Linked DNA regions of Homo sapiens: all the other regions are linked to region 1. The links are contacts of gene promoters, found by promoter capture Hi-C in blood cells and fetal thymus (Javierre and others, 2016). All regions are on one chromosome and are shown on one strand. Each heading gives the region's core, a stretch centred on a gene start or on the middle of the fragment in contact. The rest is flanking DNA. Distances are from core to core; before and after follow the strand shown. Region 1 holds the start of PIGA (phosphatidylinositol glycan anchor biosynthesis class A). Region 2 overlaps OFD1 (OFD1 centriole and centriolar satellite protein). Region 3 overlaps TXLNG (taxilin gamma). Region 4 overlaps GEMIN8 (gem nuclear organelle associated protein 8). Region 5 overlaps TXLNG (taxilin gamma). Region 6 has its middle 16 kb from the start of RBBP7. Region 7 overlaps SYAP1 (synapse associated protein 1).

Region 1 (2,700 bases), core at 161-2,660:
CAAACTCAGAAAATGCCAATTAACTGTATGTGCAAAGGCTTAACTGTCTAGTCTCTCCAACAAATTCATCTACTTTTTTTTTTTTTTTTTTTTTTTGAGACGGAGTCTCACTCTGTTGCCCAGGCTAGTGTGCAGTGGAGCGATCTCGTCTCACTGCAGCCTCTGCCTCCCGAGTTCAAGCGATTCTCCCACTTCAGCCTCCTGAATAGCTGGAATTACAGGCGCACACCACAAGCCCAGCTAATTTTTGTATTTTTAGTAGAGACGGGGTTTCATCATGTTGGCCAGGCTGGTCTCGAACCCCTGACCTCAGGTGATCCACCAGCCTCGGCCTCCCAAAGTGCTGGGATTACAGGTGTGAGCCACCGTGCCCGGCCTCATCTACATTTTAAATATACTCTCGGAAAGACCCCAGAAGTGTTTGTTGACTGAGTTTACTAATTAAGATTCAATATTACCAAATATTGAAATTCCCCAAGTTTGTACTTTTAGGTGGCTTAACTAACATTTTCTTACTGTGGTCACCTAAACCCGAACTTCCAGTTCTACCAGTTTTAAAAGATGAACGATAGCAAAAACAGTGAGTAATGAACCAAATGATATCATTTAAAATGTTGTCATTAGCCTGCAACGTTCTGTGAGGAGTCTGCCCACTTCCGCCAGGTTTTCAGTCCAAACATCTTTGACATAAAAGTTCATTATGCTGCACAATCGCAGAATCTTAGCTCTTAAAGCCGAAATGAGGCTTGGAGCTCTAGTGAATACCTCTCTCGTTTTACAAATGAGAACCCAGACAAGTTGAGTGATTTGTCCAAGGTTCCCACCCAGCCACTTAAAGTGGCAAAGACATTACCGTAAAATTCTCGACCACGACCAACGAGCCCTGGGCAATCATTAGCAGTAGAGGTTCCTGAAGAACCTTAGGGAGACCTGGCAGGAGTTGTGGGTCAAGAGAATGGTACTTCCACCGACAATTCCTGGGCACTGTCTGAGCTTCATTCCCTGATTCCCTGAGAGGTCGCTGGGGAAACGCTCGGGCCAAGGAGGGGATACCCCTGCTCAGACAGCGACCCCGCTGGGTTCATGGCGGGGATGGCCAGGCCCAAAGAGAGAAAGAAAACAACCAAAGAGTGGACGTTGGTCTCAGGCCCGGGGTTCCGGAGACCCCAGTCCCTCGACCCACCCGCCTGAGCCAAGGAACCCAGCGCGTCCGCCCTAAACGCACCCTCAGCCCCAACCTACTCTGGAGACCCTCCGACCCAACTTCCGGGCTTCGAACCGGGTCGGTTTCACCCCCTCCACCACCCGCCACGATCCCACGCGCGCAGAACAGCCCCATCCGAAAGCGGCCCAGAGCGCTGGAGAGGGGCGGCGCGACGCGCACTCACCGGTGAGTTCCATGGCCGCCAGTGTCCGGACCTCCCGCGGCTGCAGCCGGAGTCCCTCCCTGCTGTTCCGCAGCACCAATCTAGGGCGTCCGCGCCCAAGGGCCGCGCCCCCGAGGCAGCCAATCACAAAGAGGCGCTGAGGTCACGTCCGAGAGAGACGCTCTGTCGTCCCCACCCTTAAGCGCGAGATGTAACGTCAGCGCGCGCCTGCGCCCGTCTCCTAGAAGCGGCCGACGGTAGGGTGGGTGCTCACCCTGGTTTCCTGGTTACAGCGTCTCTATTCCGGACGCCAGTTCTCTGCGCGCTTGCTTCTGATTGGAGAGACTTTTTGTTTGTAATCAGCTGTGCCACGGCAAAACCGTGCCGGTTCTTACCGCTCTGGGACGTTTGCCAGATAAATAAATAAAAATACACAAAAAGTCAAAACAGATGAAACTATGAAGTTTTAATTTCAGATAAAGCACAAATGATGTTTAATACAAGCATGTACCAAATATTGGGGACTTCACTACACATTCGTTTTTTATCGGACATGTAAATTTAACTAGACATCCTGTTATTTATATGGCAATTCTACACTCTGAGGGAAACATACGAGGTCTGATCTGAAATATCAACTCCCACTCGACTGGTTCAACTAGTTACGATGGTGCTTGACTAGGAAGCTAAAGAATCAGTGAGAGTGGTATGACGGTCATCCATGCGTCACAGCTGGTACTTGGAATCCCCCATCCCTGCCATACGTGCGTTTTCGAGAAGAAATTCCTTTCTGAGTACCATCACAGCCACCGTTACTGGCACCCATTTTATTAAGCCTAGTGTAAGCCTATTCATCCCTGAAAATGTCTGCTCCTTTCTGATGCTTTCCCCAAGCCTCCAGAGAATGAAATACTCTCACTTTTTAATTTTAATAGTACTTTGGCCACATGCTGGCCAAAGTATAACATTTATCAGATGATATTCAAGTTGTTTGCCTGATTGCATTCTCCCTCCTCACCCTGATCCTTGATTACTTGTCTCTTGAGATCTCACATGGACTTCTTTCTGAAAACGGAAATTGTATTTGCTTGTTAAATGTCTGCCTTCCCTGCCAGATAGTAAACTGAGGCAGGATCTGTTCTTGGTAATGGATGTTGAGGAAGTTTTAGTTTAATACATGAATTTCTTTACCCAATGTCAGCACACTCCCTGACACATATTAGATGCTCACAATAAAATGTATTGACAGTATTTCGTGGAGTGTACCTTATACAAATTACAGTGCAATAACATCATTGAAAGAGCATTTTAGTTGTGAGATTTGAAGCGAATT
Region 2 (2,700 bases), core at 53-2,552, 1.6 Mb before region 1:
AATTTTCAGGACACCTTGTGACTTGCTTAGCTTGCATAGTTGATAAGCTGTAAAATTGGAATTATAACCACTTTTAGTTATCTTTTCCTCTACCTCACTCATACAGTCAGAAGGATGGGGTTATCTGACAATATATAAATTATACTAGTGGTCATAGTATTTGTCAGTGAACATGTGCCTTGTATTCCTTCAAGATTCAGCAAAGCCAGAATCAAAAGAGCTAAAATTAACTATGTGAGGCAAAAAGTGATATAGGGAAAGGAAAATATGGACAACTATGGTAACTTTGGCTTTTCTGTAGTCTGAGTTTTGTGTATCAGTGAATAATATCTCAGTGCTACGACATTATGCCCATGTGGTAACATTTCTCTTCAGTGTGTGGGAAAGCATCTGGCACATAAAAAGTGCTCAGTTAATATTTGTTGTAAATGTGTCACGAGGAAATGATTCAACTCAGGTGCTCTGGGCATTTCTTATTTGGCCTCTTTTATTGCCTTTCTCATAATTTGTCATCGATATTCCATTACATAATATTGCAAAGGTTTCTTGAGGTAATCCTTTAAACAAATCCTATTTTTAAAAAATATGGCAGCTTTTTTATCTATTGATTTTGAAATGATGTATTTTACCCACATCTTCTATGTCAGTTTCTATACTAAAATAGCTAAAATGGAAGTGTCTGTAGTTGCTGAATTTTTAGGAATAAATGAATTAAAGTATGTGTGTTAATTTTACATAGTTATGGAGCTAGTGAACTATTTGGTGTCATTGTGACAGCTTCCACAGGCTGCATGGTGTCTGCCTGGCTTTGGGAATCCTCATATGACTTTGGCAGGTGTTGGAGTTTGGAGGCTCTTCGCCACAGGAGTGCTTCTATTTCCTTTTGGAACCAAAAGGGCAGCTGGTAACAGCTGGGAAAGGGAAGTGAAACTGTGAAAATGTGCCTTTTGGTATTGCTAATCCGGATATAATGCTCTTGGCAGTTGGCTCTCAGGACTGTGCTTAGTCCCTGAGCACAAAAGTTCTTACCTTGGTTGGGGGTGGGCAGATGGTACAGGTGGATTGGAAGTGACCGTCTGATTATCATTTGGGATTGAGTCTGTTGTGTGCTGTGTAAATTTAATTTACCCCTTTGCTCTTTGTGTCAGTTGAGACCAACTGAAAAGTGATTGCTTTCAGTAAGTAACCTTATGATAACACGACGCTTCATTTTGTGTGATTGAGTTTTGGGACCCAGTTTATAGGATCAAGGAAGGGTTTTACTGGGCATTTTATGTTCAGGGGTTATATCCCTGGCTTTAGTATTGAGGACTTTGAAGTTTACAAGTTGTCATGTTTAGCACCCTCAGGTGCTCCTGTGCCATAGATAAGCTCCTGCACTGATAACAGTCTTTCCAGAAAAATGCCTGAGGAGCTCATATTTAGTCATTCTGATTCTCAGGTATCAACTTGAACTGAAGGATGACTACATCATTAGAACTAATCGACTGATTGAAGATGAAAGGAAGAATAAAGGTGATGTTTGGGGGGAAAATAAGCTGTATTTTTCAGTTCTGCTGTAGGTTATTAGCTTCCCAAGTTGGGTCTTTTCTATATTCTAAAAAATACAGCTTACACTTCATTGTTCATACAAAATTACACATTTTTTGTAATTTTAATTTTATAAATTAAAAATCATGGTCTTCACTGCCTTTTGAGGAACCTTCATGTTTAATAGTTTGTATATTCACAAAGGCCAGTGATTTATCATGGATATTTTATCCAACTTTATTTCATATATTTTGATAAATCTGCAATTGTCAGGAACGTAGCAGCAACTTATTGCTGTCAAGTACGTATTACTCCTAACCATGAGAGACTTTATTTTTCACTTACGGAAAACTTTTAACTTCTCTGTCCTCTGTGACCTAGTTTCTTATTTCTTTTGCTTCTAATATATTTTTATGCTTTATAATATTTTTACTTGATGTATAACCTTCTGAACTCTTGTGTACATTGGCCTGAGACTATGGAAGTTGAATAATTTTTCAATCTTCAGATGTTTTACATTTCAGTGTATTTTTTTTTTTTTTTGAGACGGAGTCTCGCTCTGTCACCTAGGCTGGAGTGCAGTGGTGCGATCTCGGCTCACTACAAGCTCCACCTCCCAGGTTCACGCCATTCTTCCACCTCAGCCTCCCCAGTAGCTGGGACTACAGGCACCCACCAACACGCCCGGCTAATTTTTTGTATTTTTAGTAGAGGCGGGGTCTCAGCGTGTTAGCCAGGATGATCTCGATCTCCTGACCTCGTGATCCGCCCGCCTCGGCCTCCCAAAGTGCTGGGATTACAGGCGTGAGCCACCACGCCCGACCCATTTCAATGTATTTCTAGGAAATTGCTGTAACAAGAAGTTGAAGTTTTGGTGGAAATTTCAAGTAGATTCCTGGGAGGAAACCAGGGTTAGATAGTTGATGTTGACCAGATACCCAATGTGTGGCTACTGTCTTTTTTTTTTTTTTTTTTTAAGAGACGGAGTCTTGCTCTGTTGCCCAGGCTGGAGTACAGTGGCACAATCTCAGCTCACTGCAACCTCTGCCTCCTGGGTTCAAGTGATTCTTGTGCCTCAGCCTCCCAAGTAGCTGGGACTACAGGTGTGCGCCACCATGCCTGGCTAATTTTTGTAGAGAGAGAGTTTCACCATGTTGGCCAGGCTGGTCT
Region 3 (2,700 bases), core at 121-2,620, 1.5 Mb after region 1:
AAATGGCAATTTCATATAGTGAACTCTAATATCTTTAGAGTTTTGTGCTATAAGCACGTAAGTTGTTTTAAAAACTACATATAGCTGGGTGTGGTGGCACGCCTGTAGTCCCAGCTACTCAGGAGTCCGAGGCGGCAGGATCGCTTGTGCTGGTGTTTTTCATCAGGGCCCTCCCTCTTGTTCATTCCAGACCCTGTAAGTGTGTCCTGCTGTGATCTCTCTCTGTGGTTGCCTTGTGTGGAATGAGTGTAGGAGGAGTTAGCTCCTTAAAAAAAAAAAAAGGTACAGGAAAGACTTGCCGTGGCTTTACAGATGGGTAAAATTAGGCATTTCTACCTATACATTCATCCTTTTTTTCAGTTAACTAGATTACATTTGGCTGAAAGAAGTGTTACTTAAAAGTTTATCATATAAGTTTTTGTGAAGACTCTAGATTAGCTGTAAAATAACACTGAGACCTTGAGACTGGCATGATCTTCATGAGCACCTCTTTGGAGTGCTGCTTTTCTTTGGGAACATCTTACAATGTGATGAATTTAAGGTCCTATAAAGCTAGCCTAACTTAGAGTGAATATTCAAGAGGTGTCAGATATGAGGAATCTTTGGAACCGAAGATCATGCCAGAAAGCTTCTAGGAGATTTGAATCTCTTACTTATCAGCCCTATACAGTCAGTTGTCCATGTAAATAGAGATGAGAATTGATGTGGAGAAGGTACGAAGTCTCCAGATGGCTTTGGAAGATGTTCCTGAACGTGGGTGTCATTGACAATGCTGCGGAAGTCACCAGAGGGCCCTTTTACCAAGCCCCCAGGCCAGCTCCAATTCTATTGTACTGTCACCATCGTAGCTTCTGTTGTCTGTGATCTGTACCACTCAGAGTCCTCTTATCCAGTCACTATTTGTTTCCTTTGCTGTCACCTCTTGTTTTCCTCTAAATGTGGCTGTCCTTCCCAAGCATGTCTCACCTTCTCTGCCCTCACCATGTCATTTCCCAGCATCTGCTGGTGTAACTCAAAGTCTTTGTGCTGTCTTCACCCGCTGTTTTGTAATCTAGCCATGGAGGTCCATGTGTGATAATAGTGGCCACTTATTGGCTACCCACTGGGCCAGCACTGAACTCTCACATGGGACAGTCTTTATTTGGATGTTCCATTTTCAATAAAAGTGGACTGTGCCTGCGAGGCGCAGTGGCTCATGCCTGTAATCCTAGCCAAGGCGGGCGGATCGCTTGAGCTTAGGAGTTTGAGACCAGCCTGAGCAACATGGTGAAACCCCATCTCTATAAAAGATACAAAAATTAGCCAGGTGTGGTGGTGTGTGCCTACAGTCCCCTCTATTCAGGAGGCTGAGATGGGAGGATTGCTTGAGCCCAAGAGGGAGGTCGAGGCTGCAATGAGCCGTGATTGCGCCACTGCACTCCAGCCTGAGCGACAGAGTGAGACCCTAAAGGACCACATCAAAACTGCTGTAACTTCTAATGTCCCTCAGGCACTAATACTGCTCCCTCCCTCTGCGTGAGCACCACTCTTGCCCCAACTCCAGGCCTGTCATGTCAGAGGCCCCGTCAGTGTCTGCTAACAAATCCTGTGTGTTCTCCAGGTCACCCTGCATTTCTCTTCCTGCTTTGTCCTCATCCCAGGCCAGGCCCTTGTGCAGATGTGGCTTGGCCATCTCACAGGGACCTCGTCTAGCCTAACAAGCACAAGGTCACTGTGAGATGACTAACTTTCAGTTGGCTTCTGCGTCCACCACACCACAGTGCGTGCTGCTTAAGTGCTTCCGGGATGGCCCGTCCCCCTGCTGGCTGTGGCTGGGCGGGCACCATCATATTCCACCCTGCCCTGCATCCTGTGCGCTAGGTGGTGCTGGTGAATATTCTGCATCCAGCACTGCTTATGCTGTTTCTTGGCCTCTGAAGATCCTTTATTCTTCTCTGCTTTTCTTATATCTATCGTGTGATCTTGCCCAAAATACTTTATTCCTCTGGGTCTCTCTCTGTTCCCCTATCCTGAAAATAATGTGATTATGTTGGATAGTCTCTGAAAGGTTCCCTCCTGGTCTAAGATGAACTCATTCAGCTCACCTATGAGGGCCAGCTCAGGCCTCCCACATGAAGCTTCCCCTAAGTATCCTGAGCCTCAGTGTGCCCTTCCCCGTATACTTCTCTGGACTCCTTTCTAAGGGGGAGAAGATGGTGACTCCATTTTATATTTTGCTTGCCTTGTTGGTTAGCATTTTTCCCTCATCCTTAAATAAAAATTCCTTGAGGGTAGGACTATGTTAAGAGTAGATCTCTTTACGTTTTCTTTTAATTTTACTCTCACCGAATTCTTCTTCCCCAACCAAACCAATTCTTTGGCTTCTGTTGCATTTTCCTCCCTTCGTTAAGGAAAGAGATACCATTGCTATCAAACTAAGAACTCTGCAGGTGGTATTCTAAAGGAATGATCTTTTCCCAAGGACAGTTTTCACTTGGCAGGAGAGGGGTAGTTGGGCGAGCACTCCACATGCATGACGTTTATAGTCACCACATCCTTCAGGCTGTGTTATGACCAATGGGTGGAGATCTAATATTAAAGTCAACAGAATGTCCTCAGTTTTAATGCATTTCTGTGGGTTGTCAGAACTTTAGCCATCTATGTCTGGTGTCCAAGGATTGGATGTGCATTTGTTCGTATTTCTATCACTTGTAATAAGTA
Region 4 (2,864 bases), core at 33-2,532, 1.3 Mb before region 1:
CATAAACACACGTGTGTGCACTGCAGAAGGAGCCCAGTGAGTGCTGCTGCTGCTGGCCATGCCATCTGCAGCCCCCTAAGGTCCCTCATCTTTCCCTTTCCAACTGTGAAACCAGGCCCAAGTGTTCCAGATGAGATGCTTACCAGATTTTGAGGCAAGACCTGCAGATTATTATCATCATTCACCTACCAAGGGGTTATTATACACTGAGAGAAATGGCAAAGAGTTGAGTGCCTATAGTCCCACCTACTTGCGAGGCTGAGGTGGGAGGATGGCTTGAGCCCAGGGGGCAGAGATTGCAGTGTACCACTATACTCCAGCCCAGGTGACAAAGCCAGACCCGGTGTCAAAAAAAAAAGAAAAAGAAATGGTGAAGAGCCACAAGGAAACTCATCACTCCAAACTACCAAACCTCTGCAACAAGCCCTGAAAACACAGGAAAGAAATGAACCCACCTGAGGTTCTCTCTTTTCATCTGCACGGCCCACTCACCACCTGCCCAGCTAGGAATGGCTGATAGAGCTTGCTTGGTTTCAAACACTGCCCCAGGCCAGCAGGGAAACAAAAAGCTTCCTGGAAAGTCCAGTGTTGCGAGCAGTGCTTACCACCATGAATGAGGTGATGTGGGGGGAAAAAATCACTCCTTTGGAAGAGGTATTGATTTTAGGTAACCTGGAAAAGAACAAGTGCTAGCAAGCACAGTATGCAATGATGATGGATGATTGATTATCCTTCCACAGATTCGAAATGCAAATCATACCAAGCAAGGAAAAGTTAAATGAGTCAACACTTGCTGAAGGAAGAAGGGTGAGGAAAGGGCAATTCTACAAATGGAATTAAGGCCTCTGACTTCTAATCTTCCCGCTATATCAAAAAATCTGCAATAATGGGTTGGTTTTCTCACTACGGGATTTGACTTTCCACTTCATAGGTTGGCCTAGGTTAAACTGCAAGTGGTATCATTACATACTTTTAATCCTACTAATTTAAATGGATTCTTGTAAAGCAAGAAGTATCTATTCAATTTACTCTTCCCTCTGTTTTTTACTATGGCAAGTCCCAATATCATAATTTTTATTCTTATGTAAACTGCAACAACATAAAAGTATCAGTAAGACAATGCTGCATAAGGTTAAATTTAGCCAATTTCCATAGCTCTTGTAAGCGACTCTGTCAAGAGAGAAATTGACAGCAGGGAACACATATCCACGGCTACTATGGCTATCAAGAGAAACACCACGAGATAAGGAGTGAAGATGGTTGTAGGGAAATAAAAGAATCATATAAATCATTCTTCCATTGTTGGTCCTCCCTGTACTAATACATGGAACAGAACATGGTAGTGAGCTAATCAAGTGTGAATGGAAAGATATTTATAAGGCCATGCATAGTCGCTCGCATAAATCCTGCTCTTTATAAGCATCATCATGGCATTGGAGGGAAGGAGTTTTATAAACTTGGAAACATTATTAAAAATGTATGTGGCCATTGCTGTCTTGGAACATCCACAGTTTATTTTTACCTAAGGGCTTATATGAATAAGCCCAATGACTATCAAACACAATAAAAGCTGCGTAACTGCTACCTCACCCATGGAAAAAATGTATGATTAACTCATTGGGCAATGCAGAATGAAACCAAAATATTGGCCTAATATGCAAATGAATGGGGGCCACCAAGCATTTGTTTCTAATTTTTGGTCTTTCTGCCAAGTTTGAAACATCAGCATATAAGTTGTTCAGTTCTCACAAGTGTTTAAATTCTATGCCCCCTAAACTGAGTTGTGTTGGAGTGGCGTGGGAGTGGATGAGCCAAACAGTGGGTTAGAGAAAGCACTCGACAACCGCCATGACAGCTTCTTATTTCCGCAAGAGTTCTGTGTGTTCCTGGTACTCAGGTCAGGGTGAAAGCCCCGCTGGGGACTAGCTTCTCCCTGGGGGCATCTCTGTTTTTCTCCTGCCTCTGTCCTGGGATGATTGAACCTGACTTTGAAGGAAAGCTTAGCTTCGTGCTTTTAGAAGGAAGAGCGGGGGTGACCTAGGACACTGGGTCTTGGTATGGGCAGTACAGACTGGTGAGATATATTCAGTCACTAAGTTCATACAGGCCTTTCCCACTTGCCTCTTTCTAGGAACCTTGAGCAGGCAGTGGGTGGGCTGATGGCACTGCCCAGGCTTTCCAGGAAAGGTAGAATTTGGCTAAAGAATCTCTCATTCAAGGGCTACTTTTCTGAAGGCTTGGCATTTCCACATTAGCACAACACAGTCCCTCTGCCATCTATGAGCAGCCTTGTACCCATTACCAATCCTATGGCTCTCTTTTTTTTTTTTTTTTTTTTTTTTTTTGGTCTATCTGGAGGAGACGATCCCACAGGTGGGTTTGCTGAGTGCCTTGGAGTCTCTGCATCCAGAGGGCAGAGCCCACAGTCAGAGTTCCCAGACCACTGTCACATTACTCTCAAATTTATCCCAAGACTATAATCAGCTTCACTGACAGATCTGGTGACACAAGACATGTTCAACTTCCTGCATAAATCCGAGTCTTTGAGTTTAGAAGTTTGAATGAACACTGAGATCTTAGCTATCCTAAGTATTCTCTGTCGGTAGGATGTTGTGAGTTTAGTCTTTGAACTTTTGCATCTTTTTTTTTCTTTTCCTTATAATTTAAAATGTTTGTAACAATTATATATAGAGAGATGTGTTCTCTTATTGTTGACATCTGTGAATGATACACAATGTTAACACAAAGCAACCCCAGTTAATGATGCTGGTACAATTTTCCAACTTTGTACTCAGCGTGTGCCCATGGGTTACCATCACATGATTTTAGTTCTTAATAAAGTTCATACGGTGTAAGAATACAAA
Region 5 (2,716 bases), core at 137-2,636, 1.5 Mb after region 1:
CGCTCTTGTTGCCCAGGCTAGAGTGCAATGGCATGATCTTGGCTCACCACAACCTCCGCCTCCCGGGTTCAAGCAATTCTCCTGCCTCAGCCTCCCAAGTAGCTGGGATTACAGGCATGTGCCACCACGCCCGGCTAATTTTTTTTGTATTTTTAGTAGAGACGGGGTTTCTCCATGTTGGTCAGGCTAGTCTCAAACTCCTGACCTCAGGTGATCTGCCCGCCTCGGCCTCCCAAAGTGCTGAGGTTACAGGTGTGAGCCACTGCGCCCGACCCTTATCCCCTATTATTTACATCTTGCATTAGTGTGATACTTGTGTTAAAATTCATGAGCCAATATTGCTATATTATTATTGACTAAGTCCATAGTTTACGTTAGGGTTCACTCTGGTGCTATATATTCTATGCATTTTGACAAATGTGTAGTGACATGGATCCACGATTATAGTATCACACAGAAGAGTTTCACAGTCCTATAAATCCCTTGTGCTCTACCTATTCATCCCTCTCTCCCTTCCCCTAGACTACTGACAGCCACTGATTTTATTTTTTTTAAATTTTAGAGTTGGGGGTCCTGCTATGTTGCCCAGGCTGGTCTTGAACTCCTAGGCTCAGGCGATCGTTCTGCCTTGGCCTCCCAAAGTGCTGGAATTATAAGTATGAGCCACCACACCTGGCCTGATCTTTTTACTGTCTCCATAGTTTTGCCTTTTCCAGCTTGTCTAAGGTTGGTATTTTTTTTCTTTACTAGATTTTTGCTTGGGAATGTTAAAAATTATTTAACTACTATTAAACTAATTTTTAGGTCCATAAACCATGTGGAAGGATAATACAAGGTACCTAGGCCCAAATTAACAAAATCTTGCATTTACATAATGCCCTGTAGTTTTTATGGCACATTTGCACATACATTAACTCTTTCAGCACCAGTCAGATGCTGTGGAGAAGGCTGGGCAGCTTTCACTGCCCTCATTTGCTGATGACAAGCTGCTCAACGATGTTAACTCACTTGCCTAAGGGGTGAAGCTGAGTCTGGAACCCAATACTCTTTCATCTATACTACAGTAATGAGTAGTGTAGTACTGGGTAAATCTATGGATTTTGGAGTTGGGACTCCTGGCTTTCTGCCGCCCATAGCTCTGCAACCTTGGGCAAGTTTCTCAATCTTTCTAAGCTTCAGTTGCATCATCTGTAAAGAGGGGATAATGCTCATACCTACCACAGGGGATTACTGTGAAGAAGGAGTTGATGGGACACATTTGGCACAGTGTGGGATATGTAGAATTTTACATGGTTTGGAGGGGAGGACATATGGAAGAGATTAATTTCTCTTGCATTTAGGGTGCTAATTTTGTAAATCCATCTTCCAACCTTTATATTCTCTCCTCTTCCCAGAATCTCTCCGTGATAGACATAATGAGGAGAAATCAGGTCAGGGTTGGGCAAGAGTATGGGGGCAGGAAAAAGCCATTTCATTAATCTTGTTTTTCTCCCCATTTGCCAACTTGATGAACTTCCACTCTTCTGGTACAGAGATTAAGTAATGAGAAGTAAAGTAAAGTGATCTTCTGCTTACACCATTGTTTTCTAATTGTATCACCAAGCTTTGGTAAATTTATTTTTTTCTTTTACTGGGATCAAATAGGACAAGCAGTAATGAGAACAAACCAGATACAGCATATTCTGCTATTCATGCCACATTTTCATATCATATTATGTCATATTTATTATGTTATTGGAACGTGTTTTATTTATTTATTTTTAATTTATTTTGTTTTTTTGAGATGGAGTCTTGTTCTGTAGCCCAGGCAGGAGTGCAATGGCGCAATCTCAGCTCACTGCAACCTCCACTTTCCGGGTTCAAGTGATTCTCCTGCATCAGCCTCCCGAGTAGCTGAGATTACAGGCATGCGCCACCAGGCCTGGCTAATTTTTGTATTTTTAGTAGAGATGGGGTTTCACCATGTTGGCCAGGCTGGTCTTGAACTCCTGACCTCAAGTGATCCACCTGCCTTGGCCTCCCAAAGTGCTGGAATTACAGGCATGAGCCACCGCGCCCTGCCTGGAAGGTGTTTTATGTTATTTTGTGTGTTATTTATATTGGTCTTGCCTAGAGAAGTTTTGTTTAGGAAGGTATATATCAAATCCAAATGACATAAAACTGCTTTTGTGGGATTCTTCACAAGATTCACTATAATGGGCTTCTATTAAATAGATATGCTGTCACAGTTTTACACTTCTCAGAGTTATGTTTCAAAGGAAAGAAATTTGGAGACCTCAAATTTCATTTGTGTTTCATGCACTGTGTTAGTCACTTAAGGTGTGAATGCATTCTAATATCTCCTTAACTCTGCAAGGTAGGTGGTATCCCCAGGTATATAGATAAGGCATCTGAGTCTTAGTCAGAAACAAACTTGCTTGAATAATAGAGCCCACAGTTGGTGACGTTTGCTAGGGTTAGTGTATAGTTGTGTAATTGATAGTATGACAGATGTCTTCTAATGCCCAGGAAGTTTCTGCTTACCTCGTTAAGTTTTAACTTAATACCTCAAGAAATCTGTTTGCCTGTTCCTCCTCTTCCTGCTGCCCTCCCCCTAATTCCTCTTGTTTGGTTCTAATGTGATTATGAATAACTTTTAGTTAATATAACGGGTGTGTCAGTATTTATAAAGTATGGGCCAGGCATGGTGGCTCATGCTTGTAATCCCAGTGCTTTG
Region 6 (2,700 bases), core at 20-2,519, 1.6 Mb after region 1:
CACATTAGCCCCTTATTGCTCTCTGATGTATGAAATTCTCTAATCACTGTGAGCTCTGATCAAGGCAGGGAGATAATTGCATTTCATTTCCAACTCTGTCACTAACTAGGCCTATCCCCTTAAGTAGATGGTTTGCTCTTCCGGATCTATAATTTCCTCATTCCTCAAACAATGTTTTTAGCCCAGGAGAGATCCAAAGGTTATTTCGTATTTCACTGATTATGAGACTCATTCTCTTTTTCCCCCACATTTTAACATCTCTGAATTAACGTTCATCTGAAATACGTCATAGTATAGTTGGCAACATATTTTTTCTTAGTTTTATATATAAAATAATGGTGTATCTTATAATCATGGCACCTTGAGCTAGACGAAATATGATCTGTGTAATTTAATAACGTCATTGAAAATATGTATCTTCATATTTATTTTAATATATCTGAATATATTAAAACAGAAACAAAGACAATGACCTTTTATTGTGATTCTAAATCCAATTTAGAATATTAAATTACATATGTTATAATCAGAGCTTGCCCAAGTAACCATGCAACACACAAACTCAAAAATCTCCACTGCAGGCTGGGTGTGGTGGCTCACACCTGTAATCCCAGCACTTTGGGAGGCCAAGGTGGGCAGATCATTTGAGGCCAGGAGTTCCAGACCAGGTGTGCCAACATGGAGAAACCCCATCTCTACTAAAAATACAGAGATTTGCCGGGTGTGGTGGCATGCACCTGTGATCCCAGCTTTTCGGGAGGCTGAGACAGGAGAATCGCCTGAACCTGGGAAGCAGAGGTTGTAGTGAGCCAAGATTGCGCCACTGCTCTCCAGCCTGGGTGACAGAGCAAGACTCTGTCTCAAAAAAACAAAACAAAACAAACAAACAAAACTTCACTGCAGTGTGCTCCCATGTAGAATGGAAGATCAGCAAGATTCATCTTAGACAAAGTTGGGGGATGGGTACAATTTTGTTTCTCTTGAGTTTCACATCCTTTTTCTTTATTTCTCTCCTTCAGGTACTTAAAGCTTTTAAGCAACTTCTCCTCTGTGATGCCTTCTACCCTTTCTTCCCTCCCTAACCCCCATCTCTATCAGCTACACTTGAGAGTCAATTCATTCCAGGGATATTTTCTCATGAAGATTTATGACCAAGGGAATCACCTGGTATTATACCAGTGATGTGTTGGTATATGTTTAATAACCGGCTCTCTGGTGGTGGGGGAAGGCCTGATTTGCAGCACTTGCCAATTTCTGTGGTATAAATACTCCTGCAGTGGCTGATTTCAAGCTACCGATCTGACGTCAGTCACCTCATAAAATTCCTGAAAACTTCACAATGAGCTCTCATGAACCAGTATGACCCTTCTCCAACACATCACTGCTTGGTACAGACCTGATTATTCCATTCTTCTGCCAGAATCCTGTGATGATTTCTGATTGGCTCCAGAGTGGATTCCAGTTTCTCCAGCTTGATATTTAAGAGCAGAATATGATCTCATGGGTGCTGAAGCTTATGCAGTTTGGGGGCCCTCTTTAAGAACAATAATACGAACTTCATAGTACAACATTAGATACAAAAGTGAATAAGTATTTGGAATGAGAAATCACGACACATTACAAATGTTAAAAAGCTGACAAATACCAGAAACATCACAAAATCTGGAAAAATCACATAATATGCTTGGAAGAACTTTCCCCAGGCTTGCTTCTGGCTTTGTGCATTTTAAGCCTTTTTTTTTTTTTTTGAGACAGAGTCTCACTCTGTCGCTCAGACTGGAGTGCAGTGGCGTGATCTCAGCTCACTGCAACCTCCGCCTCCCAGGTTCAAACAATTCTCCTGCCTCAGCCTCTTGAATAGCTGGGATTACAGGCACACACCACCAAGCCTGGCTAAGTTTTGTAGTTTTAGTAGAGACGGGGTTTCACCATGTTGGCCAGGCTGGTTTCAAACTCCTGACCTCAGGTGATCTGCCCACCTTGGCCTCCCAAAGTGCTGGGATTACAGGCATGAGCCACTGCACCTGACCATAAGCCTCGTTTTTTGTCCACTACCCACATCTGGTGCCAGGTGCCCTCAGACATGATCATATTGTGATATGTCCTCTGGCAGTGGGGTGTAGGAGTATTCCTGAGAGCTATTCCTTATTTGGATGGCTAATCAATGACTTAATCATTCATGGAAATGACCGTCAAACATGTATGTTTCTCTAAACCCTAGCCAAATATATCTCCAACTCAACTTCCCCTAGCTAGATCCCCAAAATGCCTGTAGCCACTCTAATGTCACTGAGTATAGCGGGAAGTGTATCAGTCAGGGGTCGATCTGATAAGCAGAACTGCCATGAGAGATCTAGAATAAGGGATTTATTATAGGGATTCGATCCTATGCGACTGGGGGAAGAGTATGTGTAAGCTGTCACCTCCATGTTTATTGTTGAGCCTGAAGTTGCTATAGGTCAGCCAGACCAGCATTTGGAAGGAGAACTGCATGTGGATAACAATTGGAATGCTTACGGACAAACTGGAACACGTGTCCAACCTCTCACCACCTCTTGTCATGGTGTCGTGTGTGGCCTGCACGAGAAGCTGGTACTCTTTGCCACGGAACTACACATGCATTTGACCCAGGCTTTGGAGTCACTGAAGGAGCTGTCCAGTGTCGCCTAAGTGAGGGATCAGATCAGTGACACTGCCTGC
Region 7 (2,700 bases), core at 44-2,543, 1.4 Mb after region 1:
TCTGCATATATTTGTTGAGTGCCTACCTTCAAGACTGGACACTAAATACTTCCTGGTTCCTGGTGACCTATTTATACATTCAGGCAACTCACCAGTTAGTGGTGGACACCCAGGCCTGCATTCCACTCCCTCACTCAAAACCAAACCTCCTGGTCTCCTGATTCTTGGCCCTCCCTCCTGATAAATTTACAACCTCCGATTGTCACTGTCTCCAAAGGAAGGAACAATTTATAGGAGAACTCACTTAAGAGCTCCTCCCTACCTCCCTCAAGGCCCCATGCCGTTAAGTTGGTTAGTTGGTTTTTGTTAAAGTCAACCAAATTAAAGCTTTGCCTCTACTCTTTCTGAAAAAAATAAATAAATAAAAAGAAAATCTGTACTTCTGAGAATGTTAAATATCTGAATCAGTCACACAGTTTACATCAGTGGGAGGATGGCCAAAGATGAGCTTTGTGATCTTTAGCTTTTTCTAAACCGCCCCTAAAACTATTCCATGCCTAGGAATGGGGAAAGGGCCACCTCCTCCTCCTTTGAAAAGTGCTATTAGTATTGCAGTGGACCTGTGTTAGACTGTCCTCCTTTTCTTCTGTAGGGAAAGTATATTTCAAGTTCCAGCTGCCTAACTTGCAAACTAAGAGGACTCCTAAAGTTAGAGTGTACAGAGGTGACTATGTACCTGCTTTGATGTGGGAGTAAAATATCTAATTGAGTTCTGATAACACACCCAGGTTTACAATGCACAGTCAATAGCTTGGATCCTAGGGCTTATGAACAATACTTTTTAAAATTGGGGATCTCGATTTGAAGAAGAAACTTAGGGACATTGCAGAAAATCTGAAAGGTCTTTTGCAGAAAAGAAGTCGTAGATGTTCCTTATGAGGATAGACCTGAGGCTGTGGGGTAGAAATGACTAGAGAAGTGAGAAGAATTTTCTGATTAGAGTTGAGTAACAGTAATTACTGGCTGCCCTTCTAAGTCCTGTGCTCCCTACCCCTGGAAGTGGGGCTACCTGGATAGGAAGGTCCATTCCCACACTAAGATGCTGAAATTCTAAAATTGTATGAAATATAGTATCTTTGAAAAATTAACCAACTACTTTATAAGAATATTAATTTCCTAAGACTTTGCCACTGTATGCTTATTCTCTTCCTATTCTTGCGGCAGGCCTTAAACTCTACCTTGCTCTGTGTTTACTTTAACAAATTTATGTTTTTTCTGACCTTTGAAGCTCTTCCTACTTTACTTTATTCTTACCATTCCTTTCAGTTCTTCAAGCCCTTGTCAACTTGCTCAACTGACCTGAGGCAGCGTGGGATTGGAGCATGAGCTTGGGATTTAGAGGCAGATAGCCTGTGTTTGAGTTCCCTACACTACTTACTGTCTTTATTGTTATATCATTTGCAAATTACAGAAAGTCCAGTGATCAGAGGCTTAATGAAAGAAACTTTATTTTTGTGTCAGGGAGTCCCCAAGAACCATCCCCAGGTTTGATGATTGGCTAGGAAGACTTATGGGACTCAGCATATAGTTGTATTCATGGCCGTGATGTATTGCAATGAAAGAGTACAAGAATAAAATCAGGAAAGGAAAAAGGCACATGGGGTGGAAGTCCAGGGGTAAGCAGGCACAGTAGAGTCACACAGGACGTGCTTAATTCCTCTAGCAAGGAGTTGTGACAACACGTGTGAGATGCTGTCTTCCAGGGAAGCTCATTAGAGACTCAGTGCCCAGGACTTTTACTGGGGACTGGTCGTATAGGTATCCTCTGCCTACCACATATCCAAATTCCAGACCCCACAAGGAAAGCGGGAGTTCAGCATAAACCACAATGAGGCATTCTTAGCAGTTTAAGAAATGGTGGGAGCCCTCCCGAAATCTAAGTTCCCGGACACCCAGCCAGTGGCCAACCTTGAAAGCAAGCCTTTCCAAGGACAGCAGTCTCAGGCCTGCCATGTTAATGCTTTTCTGCAGAGTCTCCAAGAAATGTGGGGATGGGAGGGAGGTCCCAGGGTCAGTTCCATGGCTCAACGATATGATCAGGGAACCAATCTCTTCCACGCTTCCTCTCCTTCATCCATAGTGAGTTGGTTTCCATCCTCAGGCTGATCACTTCAGGCTCACAAGACAGCAACTGCAGTAGAAAGGGAGGACGAGGACTCTCCCCATAGCTCCCTTTTTATTAAGAAAGAAAATGTTTCTGGATGCCGACTTGCAGGTGTCCCCTTAAATTTCTTGGGGTGGAGCTGTCACATGGCTTTTCTAAGCTTCACGGGACTCTCAGCAAGTATGTGGCAGAGATCCTGACAGAGGTAGTGCCATTACCTTCTTTGGTGTGGACTTGTCAAGATTCATTCTCTGGGGCTGGCCACATGGGCACGCATCAAAATTGGGGTGGTTTTAACAAGGCAGAAGAGATGGGCTACTGGCTGGGCAGCCAGCAAGATCTGCCCCTATCACATAGGACAAATCATTTTTCCTCTGTGAGCCTCAGCTTCCCTTTTTTTGAACTGGGCAGATTATTCCTTCTCCTTGTCCCAGGAAGGTTATGAGAATAAAACATGGCATAATTAAAATGAAGGTAAAATAACTACTTTAAATGTTAGCTGTCGGCCCCCACCTTCCAGCAGGTCGCTAAGTCGTATTCAGATACATTTGAATTTGACTTCCTTTTCTTTGGCGCTACTTCGTTTCAGACCCTCA

The links. Contacts are between HindIII fragments. The CHiCAGO score rates a contact against its expected background, and 5 or more counts as called.
Region 2: a fragment that was not itself captured here is called in contact with the fragment with the promoter of PIGA in region 1 in 1 of 17 cell types (neutrophils); the score reaches 5.6 in neutrophils.
Region 3: a contact is called between a fragment that was not itself captured here and the fragment with the promoter of PIGA in region 1, in 1 of 17 cell types (non-activated CD4 T cells). The highest score is 5.3, in non-activated CD4 T cells.
Region 4: a fragment that was not itself captured here is called in contact with the fragment with the promoter of PIGA in region 1 in 5 of 17 cell types (activated CD4 T cells, total B cells, naive CD4 T cells and 2 more); the score reaches 8.6 in activated CD4 T cells.
Region 5: a fragment that was not itself captured here is called in contact with the fragment with the promoter of PIGA in region 1 in 9 of 17 cell types (total B cells, non-activated CD4 T cells, naive B cells and 6 more); the score reaches 10.6 in total B cells.
Region 6: a fragment that was not itself captured here is called in contact with the fragment with the promoter of PIGA in region 1 in 1 of 17 cell types (total B cells); the score reaches 8.5 in total B cells.
Region 7: a contact is called between a fragment that was not itself captured here and the fragment with the promoter of PIGA in region 1, in 9 of 17 cell types (total B cells, naive CD4 T cells, non-activated CD4 T cells and 6 more). The highest score is 15.2, in total B cells.

Annotation. Positions count from the first base shown.
Region 1 is chrX:15,334,113-15,336,812 of GRCh38, forward strand. It overlaps PIGA (phosphatidylinositol glycan anchor biosynthesis class A), which reads right to left and starts at 1,411. Exons shown (of 6, transcript NM_002641.4): 1 at 1,389-1,411. RefSeq lists enhancers at 1,163-1,212, 1,263-1,342. The HindIII fragment of the contact is 3,001 bases long and covers 1-2,700 here.
Region 2 is chrX:13,751,927-13,754,626 of GRCh38, forward strand. OFD1 (OFD1 centriole and centriolar satellite protein) reads left to right here. Exons shown (of 23, transcript NM_003611.3): 11 at 1,442-1,515. Among named protein-coding and RNA genes, the nearest start is that of OFD1, 19 kb to the left of the region's middle. The HindIII fragment of the contact is 7,415 bases long and covers 1-2,700 here.
Region 3 is chrX:16,834,811-16,837,510 of GRCh38, forward strand. The region is part of intron 7 of TXLNG (taxilin gamma); the gene reads left to right. LOC124905251 (a long non-coding RNA gene) reads right to left here. Exons shown (of 2, transcript XR_007068399.1): 2 at 1-2,700. Among named protein-coding and RNA genes, the nearest start is that of RBBP7, 34 kb to the right of the region's middle. The HindIII fragment of the contact is 1,489 bases long and covers 627-2,115 here.
Region 4 is chrX:14,009,199-14,012,062 of GRCh38, forward strand. All of the region lies in intron 4 of GEMIN8 (gem nuclear organelle associated protein 8), which reads right to left. Among named protein-coding and RNA genes, the nearest start is that of GEMIN8, 19 kb to the right of the region's middle. The HindIII fragment of the contact is 1,430 bases long and covers 568-1,997 here.
Region 5 is chrX:16,789,824-16,792,539 of GRCh38, forward strand. All of the region lies in intron 1 of TXLNG (taxilin gamma), which reads left to right. Among named protein-coding and RNA genes, the nearest start is that of TXLNG, 4.7 kb to the left of the region's middle. The HindIII fragment of the contact is 430 bases long and covers 1,172-1,601 here.
Region 6 is chrX:16,884,842-16,887,541 of GRCh38, forward strand. No RefSeq gene overlaps it. Among named protein-coding and RNA genes, the nearest start is that of RBBP7, 16 kb to the left of the region's middle. The HindIII fragment of the contact is 484 bases long and covers 1,028-1,511 here.
Region 7 is chrX:16,722,568-16,725,267 of GRCh38, forward strand. The region is part of intron 1 of SYAP1 (synapse associated protein 1); the gene reads left to right. Among named protein-coding and RNA genes, the nearest start is that of SYAP1, 4.3 kb to the left of the region's middle. The HindIII fragment of the contact is 1,937 bases long and covers 326-2,262 here.